Linked DNA regions of Homo sapiens: region 1 is linked to region 2. Evidence: promoter capture Hi-C in 16 types of primary human blood cells and fetal thymus (Javierre and others, 2016). All regions are on one chromosome and are shown on one strand. Each heading gives the region's core, a stretch centred on a gene start or on the middle of the fragment in contact. The rest is flanking DNA. Distances are from core to core; before and after follow the strand shown. Region 1 has its middle 5.3 kb from the start of PSMB7. Region 2 holds the start of WDR38 (WD repeat domain 38).

Evidence for each region. The method cuts DNA at HindIII sites, captures the fragments that hold promoters and counts their contacts. A CHiCAGO score of 5 or more calls a contact.
Region 1: a fragment that was not itself captured here is called in contact with the fragment with the promoter of WDR38 in region 2 in 1 of 17 cell types (neutrophils); the score reaches 8.4 in neutrophils.

Annotation. Positions count from the first base shown.
Region 1 is chr9:124,417,484-124,424,033 of GRCh38, forward strand. No RefSeq gene overlaps it. Among named protein-coding and RNA genes, the nearest start is that of PSMB7, 5.3 kb to the left of the region's middle. The HindIII fragment of the contact is 2,918 bases long and covers 308-3,225 here.
Region 2 is chr9:124,848,808-124,854,944 of GRCh38, forward strand. It overlaps WDR38 (WD repeat domain 38), which reads left to right and starts at 4,653. Exons shown (of 9, transcript NM_001045476.3): 1 at 4,653-4,793; 2 at 5,398-5,518. The coding sequence starts at 4,725. RefSeq lists a silencer at 4,705-4,754. The HindIII fragment of the contact is 17,878 bases long and covers 3,920-6,137 here.

The sequences.
Region 1 (6,550 bases), core at 517-3,016, 430 kb before region 2:
CAGCTCACTGCAACCTCCACCTCCTGGGTTCAAGTGATTCTCATGCCTCAGCCTCCCAAGTAGCTGGGATTACAGGCATATGCCACCACGCCTGACTAATTTTTGTATTTTTAGTAGAGACAGGGTTTCACCATGTTGGCCAGGCTGGTCTCGAACTCCAGACCTCAAGTGATCTGCCCACCTCAGCCTCCCAAAGTGCTGGGATTACAGGCATGAGCCACAATGCCTTGCCAGTGAATTTCATTTTAATAAGGCTATTGTGAGTATTAAACATTGTACATGAAGACCATCTATCTTAGCATGTAGAAGCTTCTTATAAATAGTTATTATTAATAATACATTCATTTCATCCTGTCAACAAACCTAAGAGATAATTATGTAATTCAACTCATTTTACTGAGGGAATTGAAGGCTCCTTTTACAGCCTGAATGACTGTGGAATGAATTAATTTATTCACTCAACAAATATTTATTGAGCTCCCATTATGCGTCAGACATGGTTCTAGGTGCAAATGAATGAATGAAGCACCTAGAACCAGTGTCTATCACAACTGTGTGTTTAATAAACATTTGTCAAAGGTTGAATTCCCTTTCGTTACCTCTGAGTTTTCCGTTGAAATTAGGGAAATAAATTCATATTCTGCAGTTCTAGCCCCTAGTAACTCAGTAGCTGACCTTACTTGGAAGTATTCCAAATGAATTGAATTTGATTTGATATTACAGAGGTAATCAAGTTAAAAATGAGGTCACTAGGCCCTAATCCAACAGGACTGGCGTCCTTATAAAAATTGGAAATTTGGGTCGGGCATGGTGTCTCACACCTGTAATCCCAACACTTTGGGAGGCCAAGGCAGGTGGATCACTTGAGATCAGGCGTTCAAGACCAGCCTAGCCAACATGGTGAAACCACGTCTCTACTAAAAATACAAAAATTAGCTGGGCATTGTGGTGGGCGCCTGTAATCCCAGCTACTCAAGAGGCTGAGGCAGGGGAATCACTCGAACCTGGGAGGAGGAGGTTGCAGTGAGCCAAAATCATGCCACTGCACTCCAACCTGGGCAACAGAGAAAGACTCTGTCTAAAAAAAAAAAAAAAAATTGGCAATTTGGAGACAGACATGCACACAGGGAGAACCCCATATGAAGATGAAGGTAGACACTGGAGTGATGATCCTATGGGCCAAGGAATGCCAAAAGTTGCCATCAAACCACCAGAAGCTAGGCGCCAGGTCTGGAACAGTCTGCCTCACGGCTCTCAGAAGAAGCAACTTTGCAGACACCTTGCTTTGGACTTGCACCCTCCAGAATGGTGAGACAATAAATTTCTGGTGTTTCAGCCACCCAGATTGTGGTACTTTGTTATAACAGAGCTAGGAAACTCAGACACCTCCTGAGCTCACAGTCCAGGGGAGGAGAGGAAGTCTCAGAAAAGAAAGACTCCCAGCGCTGTGTGCCAACTGCCAGGCGGGGGAAGCATGGGAATGCGAGTGGGGGGCACACACTCTAGGGAAGCCTAGAGGCTCAGACGGTGTGGAGCCCATCGGGACGACAAGGCAAGAGGGTCAGGCACGTGGGCGAAGGCTTGAGATGTGCCAAAAACAAAACCAAACCGAAAACCCTGGACATGGTTTTTAGGAAACAGTCGTGAGGCTTCTGCAGTGGTACCTGCAGCCTCCGGGGGGTGGTGGTGGGTGCCTGAGTCCCGCCGTAGGGTCTCAGTGGGAGCTAGGAAGCCAGGGCCCAGCCAGGCGTGGTGGCTCATGCCTGTAATCCCAGCACTTTGGGAGGCCCAGGCAGGCAGATCACTCGAGGTCAGGTGTTCAAGACTAGCGTGGCCAGCATGGTGAAACCCCGTCTCTACTAAAAATACAAAAGTTAGCTGGGTGTGGTGGCGCCCGCTTGTAATCTCAGCTACTTGGGAGGCTGAGGTGGGAGGATTGCTTGAACCTGGGAGGCGGAGGTTGCAGTGAGCTGAGATCACACCACTGCACTCCAGCCTGGGCAACAAAGCCAGAGTCTGTTTCAAAAAAAAAAAAAAAGAGAAGCCAGGGCCCCGGGCACAGCACAGAGAGCTAGGAAAGCCGTTGTAGAAATGATCTGTGACCTCGATTTGCTTGAGGGAACTTTCTCTTCCTACCTGGGTTTCTTTGGTATCTTTGATTTTTCACACCCAGACTGGGCTGAGGAGGGGACATTGTTTCCTCTTACAGCCTCTGGAGGTGGCCCCGCAGAGGCACTCAGAGCCCAGCAGAGGGCGACCAAGAGCCTCCAGGCGGCCTGGACATAAAGCAAGGGAGTCAGCCGGGCGGGGATGGGGGCAGCCGGGCAGGGATGGGGGCAGCCTCTGCACCTCCAGGCATGTGGAGGGCAACCCTAGATCCCTAGCACTCAGAGATCCCCACTCGGCCTCCCTGCCCAGCATGGCTGCTGCCCCCTGGGACTGCAGCCCAGCCCAGCTGGCCCTCCCCTGGGCCTGGACACAGTCCCACTTCATCCCTGGCAGTGCTACCAACCCCAACTCACCAGTGAAGCCACCACTTCTGCTGTGGATTTGGCTGGGTGACCTCAGGAGAGCCATCAGGCTCTCTGTGCCTCAGTTCCCAAATAACACAGTAACAACCAACAGTCCCTGAGAGCACTCAACATCCTGGGCTTGGACCCAGCCATTCTGTGTGCAGGATCTCATGATCACCCTGGACACCTAGAATGTGCCAGGCAGTAGGAAAGCACAATCAAGAGACAGACACAGAGCCTGTCCTCAGGGAGCTGGCAGTCCCCAGGGACCAGGCATCATGGCCCCACTTTATAGATGAGGCAACCAAGGCCCGGAGAGGTGAAGTCACTAGCTCAAGGTCATACCGCTGATATGACTTGAGAGTCAAACCACACCCCTCCCAGCCACAGACCACACACAGCACCACTTCCCCCACCCCTGACAATAAGGGCCCAACTGGAACCCGAGTTCCAACCGGAACCCAAGTTCCCTCGTATTCTGCCAGCACACAGGTGGGGTTTCCTCCTCCAGGACTCAGGCCAGCTCAGCTACTTGCCAGCTGCAGGACCTTAGGCTGGTGTCTTGACCTCTCCGAAGTTCAGTTTCCTCATCTGTAAAATGACAGACTGTTGCAGTGCTTATCCTGCCCCACACGCATCGAATAAGAACACGCATCGTAAACTATACAACACTTCATGTATTCATTATTTATTAAACCCTTCCTTGGTGCCAAGCTTGGTGCCAACCCTGTGCTAGATGACAGCCTTGGGGGCATTGGTCTGGCGTCTAGGCCTCCAGTTCACTGTGCTAAGTGCCCTAAAGGACACGAGCCAGAGCACAGCCAGGGAAAGAGCTTCCAAGTCTGCCTGAGGCTGCAGGTGGGCACCCAGAGGACAAGAGTTAGCATCAAGACCAGGGGACGAGGGTGCATCTCATGCTGCCGAGAGCTCAGCTGTGCGTGGCCCTGGCATCACCCTGGATTTTCCAAGAGCCCAATAAGCAGCACCCCCCACCCCACCCACCCTGCAGGCTGCCCAGGAACCCAGCATGGGACAGGCCCTCAAAGGCCCACCTGCATCCTCTGTCACGGTAAACACATCTGAGGGTGCACCCTTCAAGGAGACTTGGCCATCTTCCTCTTGCAGGGAAAGCAGCCCATGATGCTCCTGGTTGCTATGGCAACTGGGCCCTTGTTTTTCCTTCTTCATAAATAAGCTATAAATAGACAGGGCAGACCTGGGCGCCTTCCTTTGCATAAATTACAGCAGCTGCTCCAGGCTCCAGGGCCCCTGGCACAGCACCCAGGTGCCAAGCCTCGCTGCATGGGCCACAGAAACACAGCTCCCATGGGAGGGGCGCAGCACGGCACAGGGCAGCATCTCAAAGTGTGGATTCCTACCACCCATCCAGACTCTATTGGGGTGCTGAGCAGATTTTGGGGCCCACCTGAGACCTCCAGAATCCCCACCACTGTGAGCAAGGCCTGGGACGGCTGGGCCCTGAGTTTGCCAACTCCAGCTGCTGGAGAGCAGGAGGGGGCATCCCTCCCTTCTTCGTATCCAGGGGCTGTTCAAGTCACAGTGAAATCATGAGAATACTCCGCACTTCCTCAGTGGGTTCCAACAACCAAACACTCTCCCCACCTGGTTTAATCATCATGTTTAACATCTATTTACTGAATCCTTTCTCTATGCCAGGTGCTACGGTAATCACCTTCCATGCCACAACCCAATTCATTCATCAAAACACCATCTGAGGTTTCCAGCTTACAGGTAGGGGACTCTCCACTTGGAGACAGGAGTTGTAACACAAGGTCACGCAGTTGGTCAGCAAGAGAACTGGAATTTGAACCCAAGCCTGTCCTGGTTAAAGCTCATGTTCTTAATCCCAGCCTCTCCTTTTAGCATACCTGATTCTCTTAATAATTTCCGAGGGAGGGAACAGCAGGTGGGATCCTTTAAGGGGGAAGGAACAGAAAAAGGAGCTGAGACTCAGAAGGACCAGGGCCCGACCCACAGCTTCACAGGGAGGACAGTCAAGGCTGAGACTTGGGTCTGTGGAAGGCAGGCTGCAGAGAGTGGAATTACTTTCCCTAAAGAGGGGAAGATTCGGGGAGACACAATTGCCTGGAGGGCCTGGGCAGACTTCTTGGAGGAAGTGAAGCTGTAACAGAGTCTTGGAGAATGGCAGTGGAGAGAAGGAAAAAAGCATTCGAGACAGAGAGAGCAGATAAAGCATTCAAGAAAAAAGCATTCAAGACAGAGAGAGCAGATAAAGCATTCAAGAAAAAAGCATTCAAGACAGAGAGATAAAGGCTCGGAGGTGTGGTAGCGCCATCCGGCTGGCAGGATAGCAGGCAGATCAGTCCGGTTATGGGCCAGGGGCAATGTGGCCAGCTGGCCAGGCCCCAGTTAAGAAGGGCCTTGTAGAGGCCAGGCGTGGTGGCTCATGCCTGTAATCCCAGCACTTTGGGAAGCTGAGGCGGGCAGATCACCTGAGGTCAGGAGTTCAAGACCAGCCTGGCTAACATGGTGAAACCCTGTCTCTACGAAAAATACCAAAAAAATTAGCCGGGCTTGGTGGTGCACATCTGTAATCTCAGCTACTTGGGAGGCTCAGGCATGAGAATCACTTGAACCCAGGAAGTGGAGGTTGCAGTGAGCCAAGATTTCACCACTGCACTCCAGTCTGGGCGACCGAGTGACACTGTCTCAAAACAAAAAGAAGAAAATCCTTGCAGGCTGGCTCAGAAGCCTGGGCCTATCGCAAGGACATTGGGAAGCCATCAGTTTTTTTTTTTTTTTTGAGATGGAGTCTTGCTCTGTCACCCAGGCTGAAGTGCAGTAGTGGGATCTCTGCTCACTGCAGCCTCCGCCTCCAGGGTTCAAGCAACCCTCCTGCCTCAGCCTCCCAAGTAGCCAGGATTATAGGTGTGCACCACCACACCCAGCTGATTTTTGTATTTTTATAGAGATGGGGTTTCACCATGTTGGCCAGGCTGGCCTTGAACTCCTGACCTCAAGCGATCCACCCACCTTGGCCTCCCAAAGTGCTGGGATTAGAGGCGTGAGCCACCACCCCAGCCTCCATGGAATGCTTTTGAGCAGAGAATCAACATGACCTCTAGAGAAAACGGGTTTCCTGCTTGACGTGGGGGTTTGAACAGGGCTCATCACCCGGGACAAGGTATTCTGAAGGCTGCTGAACCACGGGTGCTTTCTCCATCAAATCTTGCAGGATCCATCTCTGAATGTGTCTCCCGGACCCAGACACATCCAGCCCCATTATCTTCTCCATGCTTCAGACCTGCCTCGCCCTAGGTAAATGCTGCTCCATTCATTCACTCATTCATTCACTCCTTCAGATGTTCCTTACATAAACTCCAATCCTGTGTCTGGTACCATGCGACGCACAAGAAAACAAAGACTCTGCCCTCAAGAGAAATGGATACAGAAATAAATAAGCAAGTAAAAGGATCAGAAGGTTCTGATAGAGACTGTGTGGATTACAGAGATTCCAAGGAGAGAAAAAGTCAACTCCCCCAGGGGAGGAACAGCAGCAGCAAATGCTCTGAGGAAAACAGGAGACTGTAAACAGGACGCAGAAGAGGAGCAGGGGTTGGCTAGCTGGGGTTGCAGCGAGAAGAGAGTGGGCAATTCCAGAAGGAGGGGACAGTGTGAGCAGATCCGTGGAGGCGGGAAACAGCTGGGCTTGTTGGAGAACAGAAGATGAGAGGAGTAAGAGGGCGTGGGCAGCTGGAAACCGGGCATCCCAGAGTAGGAGGCAGGGGACAGAGGCTGACACATCACAGTGTGTGAAAACCACTCCGGCAGCCCGTGGGAGGACGGATGGACAGGGAGAGAATGAAAGTGGGAGAGCAGGGGCGGTGGGGGTGCTCCGGCCACAGATCAGGGAGGAGAGGAAGGTAGCCTGAAGTAGGGTGGTGACAGTGAGAACAGCGAGAGGGAACAGTCACTGGAGATATGACAGAGGCCAGATAGACAGCACATGGTTGAAGTTTGGATGTTGAGGAGAGGTAAAAGGAGGAGTCGACGTT
Region 2 (6,137 bases), core at 3,403-5,902:
GTGGGGGAAGAATCCCAGGTCTTAATCTGGACAGCCCTCCCCTCACCGAGAAGTGGGTACCTGACCCCAGCTGGGTCAATCACGAGCTCTCTGAGGATCCTGATTTGCTGGGCTGCTCCCGGGATGAGTGAGTAGCACTGCTTCCTGCCCTTCCCTGGTGTGACAGTGTTGCTGTCTTTCCAATCCGTCATCCCAGAGCTTCTTGGTCCCTTTTGGCCATCCATGGTTTCTGTTGTTTGCAACCAGAGAACCCTGCTTGAGGTAGAATCTACATTACCACCAGGGTGCGGTGGCTCACGCCTGTAATCCCAGCACTTTGGGAGGCTGAGGTGGGTGGATCACCTGATGTCTGGAGTTTGAGACCAGCCTGGCCAACATGGTGAAACCCCATCTCTACTAAAAGTACAAAAATTAGCCAGGTGTGGTGGTGGGTGCCTGTAATCCCAGCTACTTGGGAGGCTGAGGCAGGAGAATCTCTTGAACCCAGGGGGCGGAGGTTGCAGTGAGCCGAGATTGCACCATTGCACTCCAACTTGGGCAACAAGAGCAAAACTCTGTCTCAAAAAAAAAAAAAAAAAAGAATCTAAATTACTTTCCTCCCCACCCGGACCTTTCCTAAGGGACTGTACCCTCCCTGACCCCATGGTTAGCCCATGACTCTGATGGATGGAGGCAAAAAAGATAATCACTGGAGGTCTCTAGTGATAGACCAAAGGGCTCTGTTTTTTGTTTGTTTGTTTGCTTTTGAGATGGAATTTCGCTCTCATCATCCAGGCTGGAGTGCAGTGGCGCCATCTCAGCTCACTGCAACCTCTGCCTCCCAGGTTCAAGCAATTCTCCTGCCTCAGCCTCCCGAGTAGCTGGGATGACAGGCACATGCCACCATGCCCGGCTAAGTTTTGTATTTTTAGTACAGACAGGGTTTCACCATGTTGGCCAGGCTGGTCTCGAACTCCTGACCTCAGGTGATGTACCCGCCTCGGCCTCCCAAAGTTCTGGGATTACAGGCGTGAGCCACCACGCTCGGCCGTGGCTCTGTTCTTACCCCTGTCATGTTGATCATTTCCCCAATCTGGACCAGAACACAGGCCCGCTCATAAAATTTGCAGCTGCCACAGCAGCAGAATTAATGCTTTGTGCAATAGAAGTGGGACTTTTAAAATGCTTTCAAGACTAGACGGCTGGATGGGGGCCAAGAAGATGACCTTTAACCAGCATAATGTAAGGTCTTGCGTGCGTTTCCGAAGAACTCATTGTGTGAGTACCAGACAGGGGAGGGAGGGCTGGCTGGACAGCAGTTCATGGGAAAAAGCTCTCGTGCATTTGCAGTGAATAACATAGCTCTTGGAAACATAAATGCCTCTAGTAATGCAGACTGCATTACTAGAGATGGAGTGTCTAGGAAACTGGAGATGACAGTACCTTTCAGCTTGGTGGTTGTCAGTCCAAACAGTGAGCATGGTTCTAGTTCTGGTCCACACACTTTTTAAGAGGGATAATGACAGGCCAGGTGCGGTGGCTCACGCCTGTAATCCCAGCACTTTGGGAGGCCAAGGCAGGCGGATCACGTGTCCGGCTAAATTTTGTATTTTTAGTAGACAGGGTTTCACCATGTTGGCCAGGCTGGTCTCGAACTCCTGACCTCGTGATCTGCCTGCCTCGGCCTCCCAAAGTGCTGGGATTACAGGGGTGAGCCACTGCATCTGGCTGGGAACAGGTATGTTTTAAAACCTGGAGGGCAGGCACGGCGCGGTGGCTCATGCCTATAATCCCAGCACTTTGGGAGGCCGAGGTGGGTGGATCACGAGGTCAGGAGTTTGAGACCAGCCTGGCCAACATGGTGAAACCCCATCTCTACTAAAAATACAAAAATTAGCTGGGCATGGTGGCAGGTGCCTGTAATCCCAGCTACTCGGGAGGCTGAGGCAGGAGAATTGCCTAAACCCAGGAAGCAGAGGTTGCAGTGAGCCCAGATCGCGCCACTGCACTCCAGCCAGCCCGGGAGACAGAGACTCCATCTTAGAAAAAAAAAAAACCTAGAGGGCAGGAGGAGCAGCTCAGGTATTGGAGCTGGGAGCTGGAACCTCGAAGAAACCAGGGCAATTAGGCTCTCCAACTCCCTCTCCTACTTCCTCTCTTGCCACAAAACAACATTCTCTGCTTCTTGGGGCACCGGTCAGGAAATGCTGGCTCCCCACTAAACTGTTCCAGACTTGGGGTAGGACTGCAGGTAGGGTATAAGAAATGGGGCAGGGCAAGGAAGCCAGGAAGAGTAAGGACAGGCAGGCAGGGGCCAGACAGGCGGGGCCGATTCTTTAAGAACAATTCAACAGATACCTGGGGCCCCTGCCCAGCTTAGAGCTGGAATGTGGCTCCTCAAAACCCCAAGGGTCCTGCCTTTTCTAGTCCCTCCCTTCCTCTCCTGAGAGTTGACCACTCTGGAGATTTGGGGGTTTTGCTTGCTTTTCTTATCCAAATAAATAGAGGGTTCTTTTTTGCCTGCCTTGATTGTTTTCTTTCTTTCTTTCTTTTTTTTTGCTGAACAGATGTTTGTGAGGTTTGTTGTCGTTGTTGTTTTGTTTTTAGTAGAGATGGGGTTTCACCATCTTGCCCAAGCTGGTCTTGAACTCCTGGCCTCAAATGATCTGCCTGCTTTGGTCTCCCAAAGAGCTAGGATTGCTGGCATGAAACACCATGCCTGGCCCTGTGGGGTGTTTTAAGGTTGACATGCGTAGCTGAGGAGAGGCAAGGCTGGTCCAGGACCTCCAGTCCCCTTCAGGGAATGGAGTGACAGTGAGAAAAGCCAGCGCGGCATCCATCCTGGACATCTTGGTAGAGCCCTCTCCCTGGACAGCCTGGCCAAATACAGGAGAGAAGGCGGCAGGCTCCCTGAGGAGAAGGAAGAGATAGTCAGTGGTGGAAAACTGGCAGAAACTTCTCCACCACTTCATCCGCGGAGATGATCCTCCGGACCCTGGCATTCACGTTGGTGGTTCCACCTACAGATGCCTGAGCCAAGCCCACGGGTTTCGACCCCAGCTCCACCCCTTCGGCCAAGCAGTCACTGGGCCTGGTGGACAAGGTCTACCCTGAGGGTTCTGGGAGTGAAGGGCTGGGCTGGGGAAGGTGGCTCTGGGCCCTCTGGATAGAGCAGGAGCAACCAAGTGGCTAGACAATGTGCCCAGGGCCGGGGCATGGGTTGGGGGGGTGCCTGAGCAGGAGAGCCAGAGGGCCAGGGAATAGTAGCTCTGGGGAGCTGTGTCTGGGAGCCACATCTGGGTGTGGGGGGACAGCTTTATAGGCCCAGCTCAGAAGGGTCCCACAGTGACCTAGGCCCTCTGGGATCTGGGATGGAGTGGGACTGCCTCAAAGCTGTCATTGTCGCTCCCTCACCCGCCTGACTGTCTGGGACTTAAAATAGCAGGAGCACAGCGGATCTCCTGAGAAGTTTCTGGCAAAGAGGTTTAGGGGGGGAGGGTGTGAGTCGCCGCTGGGAACTCTTGAGTTTGAAGCTCCCAAAGCCCAGCTGCTCCACCCCTGCCCCCAGGGAGCCTAGAATCCATGGGCGGGGCAGGTGGGGGGTCCTCTGTTCCCTCCCTGTCCTGCTGTGGGAGTGGGGAGACTGGGTCCTGCCCCAGCTCTGCCATGGAAGCACCGGCTAGATGGCTGGGCCAAGTCCTGCCCCCTTCGGACCTCAGTTTCCCAGATGTACCAGGAGTTGCGGACCTCAACATCTGCTGAGAGGTCCCTGGAGTTCATGGCAGGTGGTCCCAGTACAGACACCCAGAGTCAGACAGCCATGGGCTGAAATCCCAGTTCCACTCCTACTGGCTGAGTGGCTCTGAGCAAGTCCTCCCAGCTCTCCGGGTGAGTTTCTTCACCTGTAAATTAACAATGAAACCAAGTCCTGCTCGTTCCAAGCTTCAGATTGCGCTATCCGGTAAGGATCCTGGCAGCTCCTGGGCAACTGCCCCCCAGCCCCAGCCTCCACCCCATCCTCAGATGGCACATTTTGTGCTGCCAGGAATGTTAACAGCAACGTGACCCCACTTTTAATGCCATGTACTTTACACACACTACCTCTGGCTTCCACGCCCTGGAGGACAGAGCTGGCTACTGTCCCCAGCGCTCTCCTGGGACATCCTTAACCTCAGTACTGGCCACTCCTGGACGGAAGGGGTATTGGCTCCTGAGGGGGCCCTCTTGGGCATCTACCGTGTGCCAGGCCCTGTGCTTGGCTCACCCCTGGAGTCCTGTGGGGCAGGGCTGATGCTCCCGGTTGTGCAGATGGGGAGACAGGCTCGTTGCTCCCCTGTATCAAAGAGGTGCAGGGACCCCTTGCAGTTCGCAGTCCGCAGGGCGCGGGGCCGGGCTCTGGGCCGCGCGGTGCGTGTGGCTGGCGCGCCCTCTAGTGGCCGCTCTGCCTGCCGTGTTGCCCCGCGCGAGAGCTGCCCTAGAGTGGACGCGCAGCCGCTGGCGCGGGAAGTCCCTTCTCCCAGCCCGCCGCGGTCCCGCCTGCTGCGGCTCCACCTCCGCCGAACTGCAAGCGGTCTGGCCTGCCTGTCAGTCCTCGTGGCTTCGCAGGGACCCCACCATGGCCGCACGCCCCGCCCCGATTACCATGGAGACCGCCTGTACACAGTTTCCTCTTTCCTCTGCCCAGTCCTGGGGTCCCGCGGCCGCCTAGGAGGGAGCCCGCCGGGGCGGGGCGGGGCCGGGTGCCCATGAACAGCGGGGTCCCGGCCACGCTGGCCGTGCGGAGAGTGAAATTCTTCGGCCAGCACGGCGGGGAGGTGAGGTCCAGCGGGCTCTGCCCAGACTCCCGGCTTTGGATGCAGAGTGGTTCCTGGTTCTGTGTAGTGGGGGTTCCAGAATGTTCTCTGGGCAGTGGCTCAGGACATTGAGTCCAGAGTAGACTTTGCTAACCCAAGAAGGATCGAAGTAGGTTCTCAGCTCCAGTGCCGGGCCCCAGCTCCAGAGCAGCTCTAGGTTCTAAGCTCTGCCTGTAAAAAGAGCCCCGGGCTCTGGGCTCTGCCTCGAGAGGGGCACAAAGCTCCCTGCTGACTCTGGTGTTTTCTGGGGCCCTGGCTCTAAAGTGAACTCAGAACTTAGAGTAGATTCTGGACTCTCCGTTGTCAGCTGCGGCTCTGGAATGGGCTCTTAGCTCTGGGGTTCCAGGCTCTGGTTCCAGAGAAGGCTCTTGCCTCCAACTGCAGGCTCTGGCTTTACGGGACTCGAGAGAGGGCCCAGTGGGTCCCGGGTTCTGGGCTCTGGTGGTGGAGTGAGGCTTGAAGTCAAGCTCCAACCCCAGGCTCTTGGGGGGCAGTGTTTAGGGGTCAGAGATGAGCGGACAGGGGTTTCTTCCCCAGAATGGGACCGCTTTTGTGCTGTTTCTAGGTCAACTCTTCTGCCTTCTCCCCTGATGGCCAGATGCTGCTCACAGGCTCAGAAGATGGCTGCGTGTATGGCTGGGAGACCCGGAGTGGGCAGCTGCTGTGGAGGCTGGGTGGCCACACAGGTGGGGCTCCCACACCTGGCCGGGAAGACCGAGGCACAAGGGTCTGGCATGCTGCAGAGCTGACTGCAGTGACCTCCGATGAGCTGGGCACGGGTGCAAGGCAGGGCTGGGCAGGTTGGGAGATGGGACGAGATATCTGGGTGCTGGGGCTTAGACTCTAACAGGCCTGGACTCAGCCTTCTTTAAAAACACACACACACACACACATACATACAAAAACAACTGTAATGTAACACAGTAATACTTACTGTTGCATCCTTTTTTGTGTGTGACAGAGTCGCTCTCTGTCACCCAGGCTGGACAACCTCGGCTCACTGCAACCCCCGCCTCCTGGGTTCAAGCAATTCTCTGCCTCAGCCTCTCGAGTAGCTGGAATTATAGACACCTGCTACCACACCCAGCTAATTTTTTTGTATCTTTAGTAGAGACGGGGTTTCACCATCTTGGCCAGGCTGGTCTTGAACTCCTGACCTCGTGATCCACCCACCTCGGCCTCCCAAAGTGCTGGGATTAAAGGCGTGAGCCACTGCACCGGCTTTGTTGTGTCCATTTTTAAGTGTACAGTTCAGAGAATCCAGTACCTTCACATTGTCGTGACACCAATCTCCAGAGCTCTTCC